Regions from separate parts of the Homo sapiens genome. Here regions 2, 3, 4, 5, 6 and 7 are each linked to region 1. The links are contacts of gene promoters, found by promoter capture Hi-C in human tissues and cell types (Jung and others, 2019). All regions are on one chromosome and are shown on one strand. The core of a region is centred on a gene start or on the middle of the fragment in contact, and the rest is flanking DNA. Distances in the headings are between cores, read along the strand shown.

Evidence for each region. The method cuts DNA at HindIII sites, captures the fragments that hold promoters and counts their contacts. A contact is called where the count stands out against the background at its distance.
Region 2: a contact is called between a fragment that was not itself captured here and the fragment with the promoter of ZNF226 in region 1, in 1 of the 25 tissues and cell types used here (IMR-90 fibroblasts).
Region 3: a fragment that was not itself captured here is called in contact with the fragment with the promoter of ZNF226 in region 1 in 8 of the 25 tissues and cell types used here (H1 embryonic stem cells, IMR-90 fibroblasts, adrenal gland and 5 more).
Region 4: a contact is called between a fragment that was not itself captured here and the fragment with the promoter of ZNF226 in region 1, in 3 of the 25 tissues and cell types used here (hippocampus, liver and mesendoderm cells).
Region 5: a fragment that was not itself captured here is called in contact with the fragment with the promoter of ZNF226 in region 1 in 5 of the 25 tissues and cell types used here (IMR-90 fibroblasts, adrenal gland, small bowel and 2 more).
Region 6: a contact is called between a fragment that was not itself captured here and the fragment with the promoter of ZNF226 in region 1, in 2 of the 25 tissues and cell types used here (IMR-90 fibroblasts and stomach).
Region 7: a fragment that was not itself captured here is called in contact with the fragment with the promoter of ZNF226 in region 1 in 1 of the 25 tissues and cell types used here (aorta).

What each region holds. Positions count from the first base shown.
Region 1 is chr19:44,163,562-44,166,677 of GRCh38, forward strand. It overlaps ZNF226 (zinc finger protein 226), which reads left to right and starts at 1,539. Exons shown (of 6, transcript NM_001032373.2): 1 at 1,539-1,581; 2 at 2,196-2,246. RefSeq lists enhancers at 1,231-1,380, 1,441-1,560. The HindIII fragment of the contact is 21,073 bases long and covers 1-3,116 here.
Region 2 is chr19:43,924,886-43,928,001 of GRCh38, forward strand. ZNF45 (zinc finger protein 45) reads right to left here. Exons shown (of 10, transcript NM_003425.4): 4 at 440-573. It overlaps ZNF45-AS1 (ZNF45 antisense RNA 1), which reads left to right. Exons shown (of 3, transcript NR_184050.1): 2 at 257-369; 3 at 1,401-3,116. Among named protein-coding and RNA genes, the nearest start is that of ZNF45, 8.8 kb to the right of the region's middle. The HindIII fragment of the contact is 3,949 bases long and covers 1-3,116 here.
Region 3 is chr19:43,959,954-43,963,069 of GRCh38, forward strand. It overlaps ZNF221 (zinc finger protein 221), which reads left to right. Exons shown (of 5, transcript NM_001297588.2): 2 at 2,772-2,854. The coding sequence starts at 2,774. Among named protein-coding and RNA genes, the nearest start is that of ZNF221, 10 kb to the left of the region's middle. The HindIII fragment of the contact is 7,430 bases long and covers 1-3,116 here.
Region 4 is chr19:44,355,142-44,358,257 of GRCh38, forward strand. It overlaps ZNF112 (zinc finger protein 112), which reads right to left and starts at 1,539. Exons shown (of 4, transcript NM_013380.4): 1 at 1,485-1,539. RefSeq lists an enhancer at 1,348-1,848. The HindIII fragment of the contact is 3,070 bases long and covers 46-3,115 here.
Region 5 is chr19:43,979,145-43,982,260 of GRCh38, forward strand. It overlaps a transcript of ZNF221 not described here. Among named protein-coding and RNA genes, the nearest start is that of ZNF155, 3.5 kb to the right of the region's middle. The HindIII fragment of the contact is 6,705 bases long and covers 1-3,116 here.
Region 6 is chr19:44,320,702-44,323,817 of GRCh38, forward strand. No RefSeq gene overlaps it. Among named protein-coding and RNA genes, the nearest start is that of ZNF235, 17 kb to the left of the region's middle. The HindIII fragment of the contact is 3,118 bases long and covers 112-3,116 here.
Region 7 is chr19:44,004,001-44,006,827 of GRCh38, forward strand. All of the region lies in intron 1 of ZNF230 (zinc finger protein 230), which reads left to right. Among named protein-coding and RNA genes, the nearest start is that of ZNF230, 2.5 kb to the left of the region's middle. The HindIII fragment of the contact is 3,707 bases long and covers 1-2,827 here.

The sequences.
Region 1 (3,116 bases), core at 289-2,788:
TAATATTGTATAGTTCATGTCTCCCAAAATGCATGGCTACTCTAACTCCCATTCACACACAAGATTAATTCCTTAGCTCTTACCTAGTATGCCCAGCCCTTGTGGGATCATTCAGTTTTTTCATCTGTGGGCCTAACTTGCCTGTTCATCTTTGGCCGTTGGGATTTCCCTGTCTTAGCTTTGAGTTTAGCTACATTTTAACGCTTTAGGGGATATTGTCACATAACATTTTTCTATCTTTGAAAAGATCCACAATATTATGTAATGATTACCACTATCTAATCCTAGAACTCTTTCATCTGCTCCCAAAAGAAATCCCCTACATGAGCTGGGTGTGGTGGTGCATGCCTGTAGTCTCAACTACCCAGGGGGCTGAGGCGGGAGGATCACTTGAGCCCAAGAATTTAAGGCTGCAGTGTGCTATGATCATGCCTGTGAATAGCCACTGTACTCCATTCTGGGAAACATAACAAGACGCTGTCTCTAAAAAAGTAAGAAAAAAAAAACCCTACATATTGACAGTCACTCCCCATTCCCAACTACATCTCCCCAGCCTTGGAGACAACTAATTTACTTTCTGTCTCTATGGACTTGCCTATTCTGCACATTTGATATAAATGGAATCATACCATATATGGTATCTTGTGTCTGGCTTCTTTCATTGGACATAATGTCTTCAGAGTTCATCTATGTTATAACATGAATCAATATTTTGTTCATTCACATTACTAAATAATATTGCATTATATGGCTAGACCACATTTTGTTTATCCACTCATCAGCTGATGGACATTGGGTCTTCTCCACTTTTTGACTATTATGACTAATGCTGCTATGAACTTTTTTAGAACAAGTTTTTGTGTGGATATCTTTCAGTTCTCCTGGGTATTTACTTAGGAGTGAAATTGCTGGCACATAAGCCCCAGATCGGGTGCCAGCAGATTCAGTGTCTGGTGAGGTCCCGCTTTCTAAGTCATACATGGTCCTTCTGGCTGTGTCCTCACATAACTAAAGAGGCAAAGGAGCTCCCTCAGGCCACTTATAAGAGAGCATTAATCCTATTCATGAGGGCATTGCCCTCTTGATCTGATCACGTCCCATAGGTTCCACCTCCTAATATCTTCTTGGGAGTTAGGATTTAAACATACGAATTTGGTGGGGGCCATAAACACTCAGACCATAATAATACCTAAAGAGAAGTGAGGGATTCTGGGAAATGAAAACCAGGAGCTCAAGGTAGTTGGACACTTCCACATCAGAAGGCTTGGACATTCCGGAAGTGTAGTCCAGGAGGGCGGTACTGTTCTGTTTTTCCCCCAACTCCAGCATTCTGTGATATGTAGTCCGGAGTTCCGTGTAGTCGCGCATAGCTCAGCTGCAGTAAGGCTGTAAATGTTTCCCCTGCGGAATCCTGGGAACTGTAGGTCCAATCGTTCTAGGTAGTTGTAGGCACTTCCGGCTCGAGGAAGGCAGTGCTGTGGAATTCTGGGAAGCGTAGTCCAGGTCCTCCTGATACTCGCAGGCACTTCCGCCCAGGAAGACGACGTAGCAGCCATCTTTTCCCTGGCTTTGGTGATTCAGGTCAGCTTCTCAGGAACCTTTCAAACTTCCCCGAAATGCACTTGTGGTCAGCAGCTAGCGGTCTTTTGTTTGGGGAAAAAAAGGAGTAGCGGCTAAGAGCGGAGGTTTGAGGGGCCAGGATGCTGTTTTGCGTTTCCCTGGGCGGAGCTTGTTAGAATTGGGGGCGTACTGGCTTCGGGCGGCTGGGGTGATGCTTCGTCGGGTTTGAAGGTCTCTCGGGCTGTTCGCTCCCTCATTGTGACTCCCCCACCTAATGAGCCAGCCCTACCACTTCATACAGTATCACATTGAGCGAGTTAGTTAATCCCCGTGCCTTCGTTTGCTGTTCTGAAGGAAAATAAAAGCAAAAACTTCCTAATAGAATGTTTTGAGAGAAAACGAGGTAATACAAAAAGTGTAAAACTGCCTGGCACGTGAATTACCAATACTACTGTAATTTTCCTAGAAACTCCCGTTCTGTGGCGAAATTCTGTGAGTCCATGAAGCTGGATTGTCCCTGACCTCTTTTGAGGAAGGAGAGGGTTGCTTCTAACTGGTCCTGGGAGATGCCACTGTGATGTATCCGGGATGAAGACACAATCCTGGTTACTTCATAGCCTGTTTTTCTTCCCCAGCCCTGACTTCTCAAAAAGCACTGCACAGAGGAGGAGGCAGCAGAACCCCATGTGAGTAAGACTTGTTGTTATTCTTGTTTTATTCACATAAATCAGAGAATGTGTGGGGTCATGTATTTGGGCATGAGAAGTGATTATAATTTAGCGTTAGTTGCTAAGTTCCATTCTAAGGGGTTTATACAAATGAACACCTTTCCACTATACAGTGGCTCTGTGAAGTGATACTCTTTTTCCGAGGAGACTGAGACATAAGAACATAACTTGTTTGCTCATAGCCACCTAGCTAGTAGGAGGCAGAGCTAGCATTGAAACCGAGGCAGTCTGAGTCTAGACCTGAGTCTTCTTTGGTATGTTCTGCATGAGCCATAGGCAGCTGGCTAGTATCATGTGAAAATAGGTTGGGACTTCACTGTGGGGACTTTGCTCAAGGTCTGGGCTATTCTATGACTTTTAAAAAATAGTGGCTGGGCACAGTGGCTGACGCCTGTAATCCCAGCACTTTGGGAGTCTGAGGCGGGCAGATCACTTGAGGCCAGGAGTTTGAGACCAGTCTGGCCAACATGGCGAAACCCCATCTCTACTAAAAATACAAAAATTAGCCAGGCGTGGTGGCCAACACCTGTAATCCCAGGAGTTTGGGAAGCTGGGGCAGGAGAATCGCTTGAACCCAGGAGGCGAGGCTGCAGTAAGCTGAGATCACACCGGTGCACTCCAGCCTCGGCAACTGAGCAAGACTCTGTCTCAAAAAAAGAAAAGAGTTTTTAAAAATAGTTTTCTCAATTATTAGTTTTATTTGTTTCAAATAATATAGAGGTAACACATAATCATGGAAAACACAGAAATACATTTAAAAAATGTAAATTCCCCATGACCTTAGGGTATAAAGATAACAACTATAGTTTAGTGCCTTTCTGTCAAGTT
Region 2 (3,116 bases), core at 322-2,821, 240 kb before region 1:
CAGCTTAAACAATCAATAGAAGTTACACATAAACCCATGCAGATGCTTTACATGAAACAGTCAGGGAGCCCCTCCCTTGCTGCTGTGGACCAATGTCTGTGTCCCCTCAAAATTCTTATGTTGAAGCCCTAATGTGATGTTATTGGGAGGTGGGGCCTTTAGGAGGTAATTAGGTCATGAGGGTGAAGCCTCCATAATGGGATTGCTTTCCTTGTAAGAAAAGCAAGTAACCTAGCTCTTTCTCTCTTCCTCCCAGGAAGATACAAGACAACAGCTTCTGCGAACCAGTAAGAGTGGCCTCATTAGACATTGGATTTGCCAGTGACTTGATCATGGACTTCCCAGTCTCCAGGACTGTGAGTTATAAAGGTTTGTTGTTTAAGCCACCCAGCCTATGGTATTGTTTGTTATAGCAGCACAAATGGACTAAGGCACTCACGGAGTCTGCAGCTTCACATGGCTTGATGATGGGGAAACATGGGCTGGATTCCAGATTCCACTTGACCCTTCAGCAGAGAGCCTCTGCACAGTGAAAAATGGAGTTCTTGTAGCTCTCAGGGTATGATTCTGATTCTATGGAGGGTGGAAACGAGTAAAATACCCAGATTAAAAGCTTAGTATTAGTTAATTACTGCTTGATTTATTAGTAAATTATTCTTAGTTCTCTTACTTCAGATAGAAGAACCCTTACTATTGAAAAGGGAAACATAAAACCTTCCAATCTTAGAAGAAATACTTATTTATTTATTTTTCTGAAATGGAGTCTTGCGCTGTGGCCCAGGCTGGAGTGCAGTGGAATGATCTCAGCTTACTGCAACCTCAGCCTTCCGGGTTCAAAAGATTATCCTGCCTCAGCCTCCCCAGTAGCTGGATTATGGGCACCCGCCACCATTCCTGGCTAATTTTTTTTGTTTCTTTTGTTTTTTTAGTACAGATGAGGTTTCACTATTTTGGCCAGGCTGGTCTCGACCTCCTGACCTCAAGTGATCCACCCGCCTTGGCCTCCCAAAGTGCTGGGATTATAGGCGTAAGCCACCACACCCAGCCTGAAATACTCTTTTAGAATTTGTAATTCACTTTGTTCTAACTCTATATTTGCCCAGCAACCTCTGCTCAGTAAGAATGTTTTGCAGGGGATATATTTCCATCGCCTCGGGAAAAAAAAGAGATAATAGCAAATCAACCATCTGTCTTGTGATGAATGTTTATTCAGCTTTATATCCCAAGTACCTAAAACAGTTCCTGTACAAAGTAATTGCCCAGCAGAAATGACTGAACCCACCATCAGACATGGAGAGGCATATAGGAAGACTAGACTAGTTGGTCTAAGTCTCCCTGAGACTGACTCCAGTTGGGAAGATTTGGAGAGCAAGGGTTTTATTTCCAAATTTTTCCTCTAGGTCTTTCACCATATTTGCTGTCCTTGGGCAAGATCAGAGTCATCTTTGGAAGGAAAAGCATCTCTGGATTTTGTTAAATACCATCTTAGGAAAGTACTCTCTGCTCTTCAAAGTCAGCGACGACATGAGTCACTGTTACAGAACCCACAGAATGTGTCCCTTAAAATACTGAGAATGAACACTATTTTACTGCCTGCATAATTAGCACTAGACAGGTGAATTTATTACTACTTCATTAAATAGATGAGTTTATTAACTCAGTGAAGACTTGTGGGAACCTTACTAAAAGAGATGCAATTCCCCAGCCTCAAGATGCTCACAGTCTAGTGATGAGGAAGCTGGCAATTCCACTATACATGGCTAAATGCCAGAGTAGTGCACAGCATCCTTTAGCGGCATGAGGAATGGGCTCATAAGCCCACAGTGGAATGCAGGGGTTCTACACAAACGTAGCTTAATCTGAGCCCTGGAGGGTGACTGAGCTCTATTAGCCAGAGAATCCAAATCACTATAAAACTCCCAGAGAACAAATGTCATGATGTGAAGACAAATAACAGGCAGAAAGAGATGGGCAGGAAGGCAGAATTCAAACCATGATGACGTTCAAGTCACAAAATTATCTGCAAGTCAGCAGGAGAACACTGAAGGACTTCTGGAAAGGAGAGTAAAAAGATTCCTTTCATGTTAGAAACAGATTACCCTCTCAAACGGGAGGAGGCTTGAGGGGGAGGAGGCTAGGGCCAGAGAGACTATTAGGAGAGCCACACTAAGAAACTCTTTCTTCTTTATTCAAATGTCACCACCTCAGAGTCTCTCTCTAGCCATCCTGTAGATAATTTCGGTCTCCTAACTGCACCCCAACACTTCCTATCCCTCATCTCTGCTTACTTCTTTTCTCTAAGCCCTTATTCCTCTCTAACATCCTTCTAGGTATTTACTTACTTATATTCATTACACTTGTCTAATGTGGAGTTTCGTTACCTGCTCCATCCCCAACACCTACTAAGTTGCTACAAGCATTTGGAAGGAACCCAAAGATTTGCAGAATGACTACTTTAATGACTCAGTGAATAGTTGATAGATACACCATGTGGATCAGGGCCTCATTATTTATCACCTGAACCATTCATTCAACATATGATTGTTGAAGGGTCTACTCTGTGCCAGCCAAGGGTCCTAGATGTGAAATATACAGCAGTGAACAAAGACCTTGATCTCACAAAGATGATATTATAATGGGCTACGAGGGCATAGCAAACCCCCAATATATAGCGAGAGACACTTTTAAGAACAATAGGGCAGGGTAAAGAAATAAAGAGATGAAAGGAGGGGCTGTCACAGAATAAGTTTTTGTCATGAAAGATTTCTCTTATATTTGAACAGAGACCTCAAATATAGGAAGAGAAAGCCATGTAGAGATCTGATATCTGAAGGCATGTAATTCAGCCCTGAAGAACATAGAAAATTTTTTTTTGTTAAAAAGCCATAGGTCTGGTATTTAGCAAAGACATGGAATCAACCTAAATGCCCGTCGATAGCAGTCTGGATAAAGAAAATGTGGTGCATATACACCATGGAATACTAGGCGGCCATAAAAAAGATGTCCTGGCTGGGCGCGGTGGCTCATGCCTGTAATCCCAGCACTTTGGGAGAGTGAGGCAGGCGGATCACCTGAGGTTAGGAGTTCGAGAACAGCCTAACCAACATGGAGAAACC
Region 3 (3,116 bases), core at 321-2,820, 200 kb before region 1:
AGAAGATGAGGGAAAACTTGGAACTTTTTTTTTTTTAACTTTTTCACTGAGCCATGGGAACTTCTTACAGACTGATTAAATAGCTGTGACCAAAATGCTGGTGGGAATATGGACAATGAAGTCCAGGCTGATGAGATCTCAGATGGAAATGAGGAAGTTATTGGGAACTGGAGTAAAGGTCACCCATGTTATGTCCTAGCAAAGAACTTTGCTGCTTTGTGTTCATGCCCTAGGGATTTCTGGAAGCTTGAACTTAAGAGTGATAACTTAGGGTACCTGGCAAAAGAAATTTCTGAGCAGCAAAGCATTCAAGAAGTGGCCTGGCTGCCTCACTGCTTCAAACAGCCTACAATTATATATGGGAGCAAAAAAATGACTTAAAGTTGGAATTTATATTTAAAAGGTAAGCAGAGTATAAAAGTTTGGAAAATTTGCAGCCTGGCCATTTAGTAGAGAAAGAAAAAGCATTTTTAGGAGAGGAATACATGTCGGCTGTGGAGCAACCACTCGCAAAAGAGATTTGCATGACTAACAGAAAGCCAAGTGGTAATATCTGAGACAATGGGAAAAAGACCTGGAAGACATTTCAGAAGTCTTCAGGAAAGTCCCTCCCATCACAGGCCTAGGGGCCTAGGAGAAAAGAATGGTTCCAAGGGCCAGGCCCAGGGACCCCCTGCCCTGAGCAGCCTCAAGACATTGTGCCCTGAATCCGGCCACTCTGGCTCCAGCCTCAGCTTAGAGTGCCCCAGGCGCAGGCTGGGTTGCAGCTCCAGAGGGTTCAAGCCTTGATAGTTGTGGTAGTTTCCACATTGTGTTAAGGCTGCAGATGCTCAGAATGCAAGCATGAAGGAGGCTTGGCAGCTTCTACCTAGATTTCAAAGGATGTATGAGAAAGCCTGGGATCCCAGTCAGAAGCCTGCCACAGTGGGGGAGCCCCAACAGAGAACCTCTACCAGGGCAGTGCCAAGGAGAAATGTGAGGGCTCCCCACAGAGTCCCCACTAGGGCACTACCTAATGGATCTGTGGTAAGGGGACCACTGCCCTCTGAGAAGTGGTCCTGAGACCACTGCTCAGTCATATCACTTGGCTGCCCAAGGCCTTGGGAGTCTATCTCTTATACCAGGATGTGGGACATGGAGTCAAGGATTATGTTGGAGCTTTAAGAGCCCTGGCTGGAGTACAGTAGCACAATCCTAACTTGCTGCAGCCTTTAACTCCTAGACTCAAGCTATCCTCCTGCCTCAGCCTCCCAAGTAGCTGGGATTACAGGCTCAAGCCACAGCACCTGCCTCTTCATATGCTCTTTACCCAAATTTTCCAATTATTTACATTTTGTATTTTGCTTTGTTAACACCCATCAGCCAAATACCACTGGGAACAAACTTATAATGAGAAACAACTTATTGTAGCTTTCTGCATCAAGGAACCCCACATAGCAAGGTGATCATGGAGTGTCTTGGTAAGAGGCATTTAGGAAGGGCTGGCTATAGAGTTTCATATAAGATGCTAGGTAGTATTAGATATAATATTAAGTAATATCACTATTAAATACTAGATATCAATTAAAAGACTATTAATATTAGTTAATTCTGTTACCTATTAGATATGGCTAGACACCATCATCTTTTCTATCCAAACTCCCATATTTAAATTTGTTGTGCTTTTTAAAGTTCTTGTAACTGTTTTCCCCCATCCCCCAGTCCAAAGTCCAATTTTATGTACTGCTTTTAGGTGTCACATTTCTGTAGTCTTCTTTAATCTAGAAAGATTCAACAGGCTTTGTCTTTTTATTCTTGACATCCTTGAAGTATATAGGCAAAGTATTTTATAGAAAGATAGTCATTTGGGATTTATGTATTTCATGTTTAGGTTCAGATTATGCATTGTTGGTGTGGATACCACAGAAGTGTTGAAGTGTCATAACAGGGGCCAAATGATGTCTGTTTTTCCCTTCATTGGAGATCTCAACTTTGTTCACTTGGCCAAGATGATATCTTTCAGATTTTTCCACTGAAAGGTTACTTTTTAATTAAATTTTGAAAATAAAAACGTTTCTTACGGGAGATACATTATTAGTGGGCATTATCCTGTAAAGATTAGCTTCCACTTCTCCCTGATTTATTAATCAGTTTCTTCAACTATAAATATTCTATCAATATGGACCCACAATCCAGTTAAATAACATGTAGATTAACTGTTATTATTTCCAACTTTATTGAGGTGTATTTTACATGTCATAGAATTTACCCATTTCAGTCGTACGATTTAATAATCTTCAGGAACTTTGAACAGTGGTGTGACCGTCATCATAATTCAGTTTAGATCATTTTCGCCCCCCAATTGGACTCCTTGTGCTTATGTACAGTTAAACCTCATTCTCACCTCAAATCTGGAGCAACCACTAACCTACTTTCTCTATATATACATTTGCTTATTCTGGATATTTTATAAAATTGAATTTTACAATCCATGGGGTTTTTAGACTGGCTTCTTTAACTTAGCATAATGTTTCCAAGGTTCATACATGTTGTAGCATGAGCCAGTTCTTCACTCCTTTGAATTTCCAAATAAAATTCTGTTGTATGGATATGCCATGATTTGTCTATTCATTTACCCGTAGGAGGGCATTTTGCTTGTTTGCAGTTTGGGGTTATGAGTAATGCTGCTATGAACATTCATGTGCTAATTGAAAATACTTGTCTATGTTGGTGGTCGGCATTCCTAGTTACCATTTCCTGTCTGTTTTTCTGCCTTTCCTGGCACTTTCCAGGCATGATTTCACCTTCACTTGAACTGCTTCATTCAGGACTCTGCAAATTCCCTGAAGTAGAAGGAAAAATGACCACATTCAAAGTGAGTAGGGCTTGCCTCTCTTGCTGTTAAAATTCCATCTTACTACTCATATTGTCACATTTTTATCTGTCTTGGGAAGACTCAAGGAGAACAACAAGCATTTGAGGGCATTTTGTTTGCCAGATGCTTCCTTTGCTGCTTTTGAATTGACTTTCCGTTTGGTTTTAGTTCTTGTTTTCTTACATAATTTCTTTTCTGTAGTAGATAAAATAGTAGGAATGGATAATTCTTTCACTTCACTACTTCTCTGCTCACAAATTAG
Region 4 (3,116 bases), core at 331-2,830, 190 kb after region 1:
CAGAATTATTTTAGTCATATTACATTTGGCTATGCTTACAAATTTCCATAGTAAAAACTTAAGGGAAAAATAAAAGCTATGAAGCCTATTTGGTTAAACATGGGTGAAAATCCAAAAAGAAGTCTACTGGAAGAGGAAAACATTGAAATATTAATATTGTTACTGTTATATCTTGTGGTTAGCATAATTTTTTTCTTTTACACTTTCTATACTTTCTTAATCTTTTACAATATGCAATAATTTATATAATCAGAATATGAACTATAAATATTTCAAATAAAATTAAATTACAGATAATTTTAAAAAATCAAAAATTCAAAGCTTATTAACCTTGCTTTCACGGTCCTCTAGTAAAATCCAAATATGTGTTCTGAAGCTGATACTAAACACATCAAGAACTAAGGCAATGGATGGAAACTATTTGAATTCAAATCCCAGCTCAGGCTCTTACCACCTGGGTGACCTAAAGATAAACCACCTATGCTCTATGTCTGTTTGCTTATCTTTAAAATGGGAATGGTGGTACCCAACCCAGGCTCAAAGGGCTCTTGTGAGGATTAAAGATGTTAATTCATATCAAACTCTTAGAATGATCAGCACTAAATGTTTAAATACTATCTTTATTACTCATGCCCAAGTACTCCCTCATCCGTTTCTGCATTTATTGAACAAATATCAGCGCATCTTCGAGCAGAATTTGCCAGTGAATGATGGAAATATCGTCTTCCCTGAAAAGAAAGGATGATAAGTACTACTCAGGTGAGACTCCGCTGCCAAGTGCCAAAGGGTCATTCCCTCCTTCTCCCTGCAGCCTTTTTCAAGAAGTCAAGGCTAAAGAAGGAAAGGAGGATGGGGGAAATCAGAACTCCTGCATGAATTACAATGGACTACCCAGACAGCCAGGAGTGATCCTGTCCTAAAGAAAAATCTCTCAGTGATCAGAAAAGGGCCAGGGATACTCTGCAGCTGGAGCTCTGACCCCATCCTGGGTTCACAGAAGCTTTCAGGGAACTGAGTCCTTCTCAGAAAATTAAAAAGTGCTAATAACAAGAGACCCATCTTCTACCACCTGTCAGGCTCTGTTCCAAGTCTTTTTATTTAACTCTCAAAAGAACTCCATTAGATAGATACTAGTACCATTTTAAAGAAAAAGAAACATAGGCAGAGAGATTAAGATACTCGCCTGTTATTATACTGCTAGGAAGTGGCAGAGCTGGTTGATGGTCAGGGGAAAGGGCTGGGGAAGTACAGAACCCAGGAGATCCCCAGTCCCTGCGATGTAGGATCTTGGACCCCCGGCGCTAAGTGGGGATGCGCCAGCTGCCCCACACTGGAGAAGGCTCATTCAAAGATAACACAAATCCCGCCCTTCGCCGCAAGTGGATTATCCTCCCCTAGAGCTACTGCCCGGTTGCTACTGGACCCCAACAAAACGAACATCAGTATGGACGGAAGGAGCAGGAAGCAGGGCGGGGAGCGCTCACCTTTCTGGGAGGAACGAAGGCCGCGGCCTAGCGTACCTGGGGCGGAAGTGGCTCTGCCTACCGAGACCTCCTGGACTACGCTTCCCAGAATTCCCGACGGGATCAGGGAGACGGCCTCAGCCTCCTAGAGCGGAAGTTACCCGACTACACGGGGCTCCCAAACTACATTTCCCAGAATTCCTAGAAAAACTCTCCACTTATCTGCCTGCCTAGGACGCAAGTACCGGGTGCCAAGCTGAGAGCCTGGATGATATTTCACATGTGCCGGTCCCAAAGGAATTCCTTAACTCCCCCTTCCTGGAACCGAAATGCTTCCAAAGACAGAGAGCTCGTATATATATTTCTCTGTTTTACCCAGCGGACCGTGCATGAAAGGCGCCTTTCCTGGCGCGTGTGTCTCTGACCCTGTGGATCTTCTGGACAATTCCCGGAATTTCTTGCAGGGTAGCACTTTCCCTTAAGTCGTCTCTTTCTCGTTTGGATAGTCAGTATTTGTATAGTCACTATTCTCTTTTGGTTAGCCATCCAATTTTATACTGCTAGTCCAGTTCTACTGCCTTCCCCCTAGAGTTTGAATTTATTTTTCTTCAAACGCGACACAAACCCAAATAAACTCAACCAAAGCGGACTTTACCTACCTACCTACCTACTTACCAAGAAAATATCCCATAAAGGAGAGAACAGAGAAGCTTGCAATACAGGAAGAAAAAAGAAAAGAATTACAGAATGGAAGCGATGTGTGCGCTAAAAATGCAGGTACTTAAAGGAAATTGGGCTGATTTGTACTGGACACCGAATTTAAGGAATACAGGATCTCAACCTTTCTTTGACTCGATTACCTTTTTATTCCATTTTGGTGTGGACGCGTCTGAAACTGATAGTGCTGCTGCTACCTACCATAATGTGTTTGTTGCAAGATCCACAAGAACGTGGATGCCAAGAATCCACAAAAAAACAGATGCAACCGTTGATGAGGCCATAAGCAGAAACAGTAAATGGTTCCCACGTTTCCTCTGCTTTAACTACTGATGATGAAATGCAAGTCATAAGGCAAATAGAAGGGCTGTACTGATACAGACAAAATGTTATTATTATGGGAAGGGATAAGTCTCTTGTAAAACCTCGAAATTTTTTTCTTCTTTGAGAAAAATCTATCACCTATTTTCACCCTGCTCTTGATATAGCAAATATTGTAAGTTGTCTTATGGAGGACAGGATGATTCAGGGAGGACGGTGAATGGGTTGACTCAATCCAGAAAAGGAAGAGGAAAATAAAAAGACATAACGACCAATCTGTGAAAATGCTCACGGGGTCAGGAGATCGAGACCATCCTGGCTAACATGGTGAAACCCCGTCTCTACAAAAAATACAAAAAATTAGCCGGGCGTGGTGGCGGGCACCTGTAGTCCCAGCTACTCGGGAGGCTGAGGCAGGAGAATGGCGTGAACCCGGGAGGCGGAGCTTGCAGTGAGCCGAGATCGCACCACTGCACTCCAGCCTGGGCAACAGAGCGAGACTCCGTCTCAAAAGAAAAAAAAAAAGACACTATTAAGAGATGAGACTATTTGATTCTTTATTTAACAACTCCTTTCCAAGGAAATGTTTCTGAAAATACATACGGTTTACATATT
Region 5 (3,116 bases), core at 174-2,673, 180 kb before region 1:
ATCTATGCATATAGGTAACAATTGTATAGAATTTTACAAAACTAGGAACACACTAAGCATACTTGCTCCTAACAGGATTGTCCTAATATGACACTAATGTTAAAGGCTGTATAAATAAGTTGACCTCCAACCTCATTTCTAATGCCTGCTGTATCCTGGTGTACTGAATATTAATTTTTCCTTAAACAGTTTTCTGATGATGAGGATCTGTGTGGTATCAATTTTAATTACAACATGCCTAGACTACAGTCCCTAGTTATTTAATCAAACAGTAATACATATATATATATATATATATATGGAAGGCATTTTGTAGATATTTAGCCCATAATCAGTTGGCTTTGAGTAGGGATATTATGTGAGATAATGTCAGTGGGCCTGATGAATCACTTGAAATTATTTAAAAGTAGAGCTGAAGCTTCTTTGAAAAAAGAAATTGCACCTTTTAGTAGCATCTTCCTCTCGTGGGTTAGTGTTCCATCTGAGCCATCCTGGGGTATAGCCATATGTTTTTTGCAGTTGCTTAGCCAGTCCCACAGTGGCATAAGAAAGTTCCTTGCAATAAATCATTTGTATATGTCATATTGATTTTGTTACTCCGTTTCAACGCTGACCAAAAGATATTTTGTTCCAGAAGTGGTTCTAGAGGAAGAGAATCTTAAGAATGAGTTTTCTAAATCAATTCTGTGTTTTCTCAAATTGGATTTCTCATCTTTTTTAGTTTAAAGGCACTATTGACTTTATTTCCAGTGGAAAATAGGGCATTGGTTGTTAAAGCCACGACATGGTGATAAATATATGCCAAATATATTGGATAATCCCAAGCATATACCTATAGAAGGCATGATTCTAGATGACCATGAATTTGTTAGTTTCGGACATAATAGTCAAACGAAGGACTATAGTGGTATTTACTAGTTGCTCTGATTTGTGCTTCAGAAAGTGGGAAAGAAAAAGATGAGGACAAGGCATCAAATTCCAGCTCAATCAGAATAACCTGAAAGCGTCAGTCATTATGCATGGCTTCTTAACCTTGTGTTGTTGATCTTGGCATTCATAGTAAATAACTTGACAGGAAATCTATTACACTGTTACTTTATTTGTATAGGCAGGAGGATTCTCTTGCAAGTAAACAGAAATCCAACTGGAATTACCTAACAGAATCACATCTCCCAAATCAATTCTAAGACAAGTCCAGTTTACAAATCCACAATTGCTTCAATAAACGGGAGGTCAGTTCTGTATTAGGATGGACGCTGGTACGTTGCAGAGTGCTTCACAAGGCCCTACAGCCATTAACCCGTGTGACTATGTACTCAAAAGGAGAAATATTCAAACATCTTGGCAACGACTAACTCCTATTATCAAATGGCACGTTTATATTTTGATGATTGGGCCTGGTGAGAAGGAAGCAGGAAGGAATCTAGGCATATTTGTAAGATACATACATACCAGAGGGAAGAAATAAATCTTATAATAATTCATGGGCCTTTCACCTTGGTGAAATTTCCACAAGTTCACTGATGTAGGCCTATTGAGCTATCCCTTCTGGGTGTAGGGCAAGTAGAATATAGCCCTTCCTACGATCAAAAAATAGCGTCACAACGCCTAGTGGACCACTGGGGCTATTGTATGCTACTTATTCCTCATTGAGGCGTGCTACTTTGCCTATTTTGTGTGACCTGAAAACATTTTGACTCATCCAAGATAAGTCTGTGCAATGTGTCCCAGCTGCTATGTAAGTTTCTCTGCCATCAGGACCCTATGACCCAGAAAAGCCAAAAGTGATTAAAATGTTAATGAAAGATAGTGATGGTTGAGCCTTTGGCTGGCCCTAGTTAGTAAATCAGCACTTTACAAGGCTGAGGTGGGAGAATCGCTTGAGCCCAGGACTTCAAGACAAGCCTTGGCAACATAGCAAGACCTTGTTCTAAAAAAAAAAATTGAGGCGAACAGACCAAAAACTCAACATAAAAATGGGTAATAGATTTGAACAATTTACAAAAAGAAAAATAATATTGACACAGGAAATATGCAAAAATGTTCTATGTTATTTAAAAAACAAGAAATATAAATTAAAACTAAATTTAAATACACTTCTTACCATTTGATTGGCAAAACTTTAAAAATGTTGTAATAACACATTTTGTTAGCTAGTTTCAAGGCAAGAGTATATTTATACATTACTTCTGCAAATGGAAATGGTACCAAAAAATTAAGGCAACTTGACAATATGCAACAAAATTTCTATTAATATCTTCACTTTTCAATCCTGCTTTCTGGGATGTACTCTTCTGATGTATCTTCAACAGGGATAATATACAAATGTACAAGTGTATTTATAACAGCATCATTTGTAATAATAAAATATTGGAAGTCACTGAAATGTCCATAAATTGCAGCACTGTTATATAAACCACTCAATGGAATTTATGCAGTTTTAAAAATAAATTACTCCATATGACATGATTTCCAAGATGTTATTATGTGAATATAGAAGAATTAGAAGTGTACTATCCTAACATTTAAGTAAAAAGGAAAAATAAGAAACACATCTATTCTGTTAAAAAAAAGTGGTAATGAAAATAATAAAATTAGTTACATAAAGGTGTTAGGTGGCAACACTGTGGAATTGGTTTAGGGGTAGGAAGGAGGGGAGTGGCACTTCTCTGAGAATAATATGTGGTAGAGCATTGACTCATGGGAACATGTTGATGACTGACATACCCAATAATATAAAATCAAGAATGAGATTTCTTTGTAGATAAACTAGGAAAGTGAAAATCATAGAATAACAAATTAACCTAAATGTATTTCAAATCAATAACATAAACAGTCTAAAGGTGACAGCAAGAAGTAATTTAAGCAACTTATTAAACAGTACAGTGTTTGACTATATATCCTCAGTCTAAAGACAAAAAGAACTATAAAAAATGTTGAACTCTACTTTTGCATTGTTTTTTACAATGATATGAATTAGTAACTCTGACACTGCATGATGCGTATGCAATGGTCTTAATGTTTGTGGCCCACCAAAATCCATATATTGTAATTTTTACCCTCAATGTGATGGTAATAGGAGGTGGGGCCTTTGGAGGGTGATTAGGTCACGGGAT
Region 6 (3,116 bases), core at 421-2,920, 160 kb after region 1:
GTTTGCTTTATAAACTTCGGAGTTCTGGTGTTGAATGCATAGATATTTATAATGGTTATATCATCTTGCTGAATTGACCCATTAATCATTTTATAGTGACCTTATTTGTCTTTTTTACAGTCTTTGATTTGTAGTCTATATTGTATCTTATACAAGTATAGCTACTCCTGCTCTTTTTTCGTTGCCTGTTGCAAGCTATGTCTTTTTCCACCCCTTCACTTTTAGACTATGTGTGTCTTTACAGGTGAAGTGGGTTTCTTGCAGGCAGCATATAGTTGGGTCTTGTTTCTCTATCCATTCAGCCACTTTATGTCTTTTAATCAGAGGATGAGTCAATTTACATTCAGTGTTATTATTGATTAGTAAGGACTTACTACTGCCATTTGTTGCTTGTTTTCTGGTTGTTTTGTAACTCCTCCCTTTCTTTCTTCCTTTCTTACTGTCTTCTTTTTTTGCTTAAATATTTAAGAGTCTTCATTTTTCTGTCTTCCTTTGTGGTTAACAGTATGTTTTAATTTGTTGCTTTTTACTTTTAGTGAATCTATTATAGGTTTTTGTATTGTGTTTACCATAAAGCTTACAAAATACATTTTATAGATATAACAGGTTATTTTAAAGAGATGACAACTTATCTTAGATTACAAGTAATAGAAACAAAGAAAAATGAAAAGAAGAAACACTTCTACACTTAACTCCCATCCGTCCCACCTTTTGATTTTTGGTTGTCTCAATGTACATATTTTTATATTACCTATTTCTTAACAAATTGCTCTTGCTATTATTCTTTTTGATAGATTTCTTTTGGGCTACATACTAGTTATGAGTGGATTGCACATCACAATTACAATACTATTCTTGGTTTGTCTGTGTACTTAACTTTACCACTGGGTTTTACAGTTTCAGAAGCTTTCATTTTGCACATTAGTAGCTTTTTCTTTCACATTGGAAACTCCCTTGAACCTTTCTTAGAAGTCTGTTGTGGTAAATTCTCTCATCTTTTGTTTATCTTGGAAAGACTTTATCTCTCCTTCATATTTGAAGGATAACTTTGCTAGATACAGTATTCTTGGATGATAGTTTTTTTTTTTTTTTAATTTCAGCACTTTGAAAATGTCTCTGCACTTCCTCCTGGCCTATATGGCTTCTGTTAAGAAGTCTTTTGCCAGATGAATTGGAGCTCCTTTATATGTCATTTGCTTGTTTTTTTTTTTTTTTTTTTTTTTTTTTGCTGCTTTTATAATTCTTTCTCCTTGACCTATGAGAGTTTATTATATGCTTTGGGGTAGTCTTAGTTGGGTCAAATCTGTTTGCTGTTCTATGATTTCCCTGTACCTGGATATTCATCTCTTTCTTAAATTTTGGAAAGTTTTCTGTTATTTTGTTGAATATACTTTCTACTCCTTGCTCTTGCTCAACTCCCTCCTGAACAGCAGTAATTCTTAGTTTTGGTCATTTGAGATATTTTCTATCTCTTTCAGTCAATATTTGCTCTTTTTCTTTCTCTGTTCTCTTCTGACTGTGTATTCACAAATAGCCTGTCTTGGAGCTCACTGATTCTTTCTTCTGCTTGATACATTCTGCTGTTGAGAGCCTCTAATGGATATTTCAGTGCAGCAAACATATTTCTCAGTTCCAAGATTTCTGTTTGATTTTAAAAAATTATTTTATTCTCTGTTCAGGTTCTCTGATACATTTCTGAATTGCTTTTCTGTGTTATCTTGGAGATCACTGAGTTTCCTTAAAACAGCTCTTATGAAGTCTTGGTCAGAGAGTTCACATATCGTCTTCCTGTTAGGATCAGTCACTGGTTCCTTGCTTTGTCCATTTGTGGGATGCCATGGCTCCCCGTTTGCTGTTGTTGCTTATGGATGTGTGTCTGTCTTTGCATCGAATGATTATACATTCCACTATTCTCTGTCTGGCTGGTTTTGTTTTTCATTGGATATGGCTCCCTAGAGATTCTTTATATTTTACCTGTTGATTTTCTTCTTTCCCGTTAGGTTACTGACTCCTTTTTGGTACTAGATAGCCTATTAACTCCAGGTTTGCCTCAGTTCTAGTAAATAATCATAGTGCCACCCATCCCAAAAGGGGTAGGTCCCATAGGGGATATCCTAGTTGTAAGAAAGCTGGCTAGTGGTTCATGATTGGGGACCTACAGTATAGTGATGCTGAACAGCCACTCTGATTGTTGTCTCCTTTGGCTGAGTTGCAGAGTAGAGTTTCCATGACGGGGACAGTATTCCCACCTCCCTCCTTTGTCTCTGGCTGTCCTCAGGGATATTTCTCTCTTCAGTTACTCCTGATGCTTTCTGTGGGTTGAGTCAGGGACAAGTCTCCTGCCAGGAAACCCAAGATGGGGAGGAGGCTGGTTGTCCACCTTGATTAACTTTTTCCAGTATAGAAACCGTGAGACGGGAAAATTTTCCACAGTCTTGGCACCAGGCAGATTAGGGGGAAGGGCACTGTGGATAGGAAAGTCCACTTCTCTTATCATCTGCTCAGTTTTTTCCACTTATTTGTGTCCTCAGGAACTGTCTCCTTCTATTTGAGTTCTGGGATATTGCTGGTGATAATCTTGGTGCTGTATATTTGTCTTTAGTTTTCTATTGAAAGGAGTGAAGCCAGCTTGCTTCTACATTGCTATTTTTGGAACCAGAATTTAATTTCTACTACTGACTTATGAGATGTACTTTAAAAAATTCTTAAATGGTTACTCTAGGGCTTAAAATATATTCCTGTATTTTTTCACAGTCTATCTTCAAATCATATTATGCCAATTCATGTATAGAGTACAACCATATACCTCTAATTTCTGCTAGTATATTTCTAATTTCTGTCTTCCCTGTTTTGCAGTGTTCTTACGAAACATCTTATTTTTGTATGTCCTCTAAATTCATAAAACCTCATTCCTAATTTTGCTTTACTGAATTATATTTTGGAGTAATAAAAATAAAAATTATTTTACACTTAAAATGATTGAAATAACTATTTTCATAGTTATGTCTTTTGGTAGATCCAAGTCTATTTCTGGTATGCTAAATATCTCTTACAGTGCAGGTCTGCTAACAGTGAATTCTATCAGCTTCTGTTCATCTGAAAATGCCTTTATTTTG
Region 7 (2,827 bases), core at 328-2,827, 160 kb before region 1:
GTCAGAGCCTGAGTTGATCACCTCTTGGATACATTCTCATTGAGGCAGAGGAACTAGCTGGACTCGTAGGGAAAGCAAGTTAGGACCTGATTGAAAGGACGTTGAGAGCAAGGCTCGTGGGCTTGGACGTCTAGGAATTTTTAAAAATTTCTCAACTATTTTGTTTCATGTTTTCCAAGTATTTCGTACTGTTGTGGAACTGTATCATTGTGGAAAAGTCTGAAATAGGAGAAATGAGAGTAGAAAAAGTTTTTTAATTACCCATGTATCCAAGATGTAAAGGTAGTAACTGTTAAGCTTCTAATTGATTTCTTTTGTCTTTCTTTGTGTCTACTTCTATATTTGTTGATAAACATTTTTTTAAAAATTGTTATATTTTAATGTGTTTTCCCATATGTCTTTTAACTATAGAAAATTTTAAATATTGCTAATAGAGACTAAACTAGTGAGGCTGGTTGTGGTGGCTCATGCCTATAATCCCAGCACTTTGGGAGGCCAAGGCAGGTGGATCACTTGAGGTCAGTAGTTTGAGACCAGCCTGGCCAACATGGTGAAACCCCATCTCTACCAAAAATACAAATATTAGCCGGGCGTGATGGCACGTGCCTGTAGTCCCAGCTACTCTAGAGGCTGAGGCAGGAGAATTGCTTAAACCCGGGAGGTGGAGGTTGCAGTGAGCCAAGATCACGCCACTGCACTCCAGCCTGGGCAACAGAGTGAGACTCAAAAAAAAAAAAAAAAAAAAGAATAAACTAGTGAACTGCCATATTATATAATGCTCAATTTTATTATTCCCATTATCCTTATGACTATTTCCTGATATCTAAAATATTTTTGCTGGGCGCGGTGGCTCACGCCTGTAATCCCAGCACTTTGGGAGGCCGAGGCGGGTGGATCACGAGGTCAGGAGATCGAGACCATCCTGGCCAACATGGTGAAACCCCATCTCTACTAAAAAAAAAAATACAAAAAATTAGCTGGGCATGGTGGCAGGCAGTTGTGGTCCCAGCTACTCCAGAGGCTGAGGCAGGAGAAAGGCGTGAGCCCGGGAGGCGGAGCTTGCAGTGAGCGAGATCGCGCCACTGCACTCCAGCCTGGGCTAGGGAGCGAGACTCTGTCTCAAAAAAAAAAAAATTAAAAACTAAAAACAAAATAAAATATTTTCATCTTTATATCATTTAAAAGCTATAGAAAAGTTGCAAAAATAGTATAAGGAGTTCTCATACTCTATCCAAATTTGCCAATTGTTTACATTTTTCCTGGTTGCTTTGTTGATGACCATCAGCCAAATACCACCAGGAACATAACTAACCAGAGACAGCTGATTATGGCTTTCTGCAGCAAGGAAGCCCACATACCATGGTAAATGTGGGGTGTGTTGGTAAGAGGTATTTAAGAAGGGATGGTATAGGGTTTCACATAACATGCTAGATAATATTAGATATTAAATAATATTGTTATCTATTACATATCAGATCTGTTAAAAGACTACTAGTAGTTGTAGTGTTACTCATTAGATAGTGTTGAATAGCATATTACCTAACATCCTGTTATCTAATCTGTAGTTACATATTTAAATTTGTTCAGTTTTTCATTTAAAGTCCTATGCCAGGCACAGTGGCTCATGCCTGTAATCCCAGCATTTTGGGAGGCAACGGCGGGTGGATCTCCTGAGGTCAGGAGTTCGAGACCAGCCTGGCCAACATGGTGACACCTTGTCTCTACTAAAAATATTTTTAAAAGCCGGGTGTGGTGGCATGCTCCTGTAATCCCTGCTACTTGGGAGGCTAAGGCAAGAGAATCACCTGAACCCAGCAGGCGGAGGTTGCAGTGAGCTGAGATCGCGCCACTGCACTCCAGCATGGGTGACAGAGCGAGACTCTGTCTCAAAAAATAAAAAAATAAAGTCCTTATGACTGTGTCCCCTACCCCACCCTTCACCTGCAATGCCATTCAAAGTCCAGTTTATGCATTGTCTTTAGTTGTCACATTCCACAGTTTCTTTAGTCTAGAAAGATTCCACAGTCTTTGTCTTTTATAAACATGGTGGTTTTTTTTTTAATAGGAAAGTTATTTTGGAGAAAGATGTTCATTTGGAGTTTGATATATTTCATGTTTAGTTTCAGATTATGTATTGTTGGTAAGGATATTGCACAAGTGATGAGGTTTCCTCTTTATTGCAACATAACAGGGTTCACATGATGTGGTTTGTCCCTTCACTGGTGATCTCAACTGTGTTCACTTGGCCAAGATGATGCCTTTCAGATTTGTCCGCTGTAAAGTTACCTTTTTTAAAAAAACTCAAGTTTCTTATTGGAAGGTACATTATTAGTGGGCATTCTACTAAAGATGAACTTCTAGTTCTCTTCATTTATTCATTTGTTTGTTCAAGTATAAATCTCCCAACAATATGGACTCAGAATTCAGTCTTATGAAGGTAAATGACATGTGGATTAGCAATTTTTTTTCAACTCTATTGAGGTATATTTTACATAAAGCATTCACTCATTTCAGGAGTACAGTGATCTTTAGGAACTTTGTAAAGTGGAGTAACCATCATCATAATTCAGTTTAGTTATTTTTCACCCTCAGTTGGACTCTGTGCCCATTTACAATTAAACCTCATTCTCACCCCAAATCTGGAGCAACCACTAACCTACTTTTCCTCTATGTATACATTTGCCTATTCGGACATTTCATATAAATGGAATCATCTAATCCATGGATTTTGGTGACTGGCTTCTTTCTCTTATGATGTTTCCAAGGTTTGTGCATGTTGTAGCATGGGTTGGTACTTCATTCCTTTTAATTTCCAAATTAGATTCCA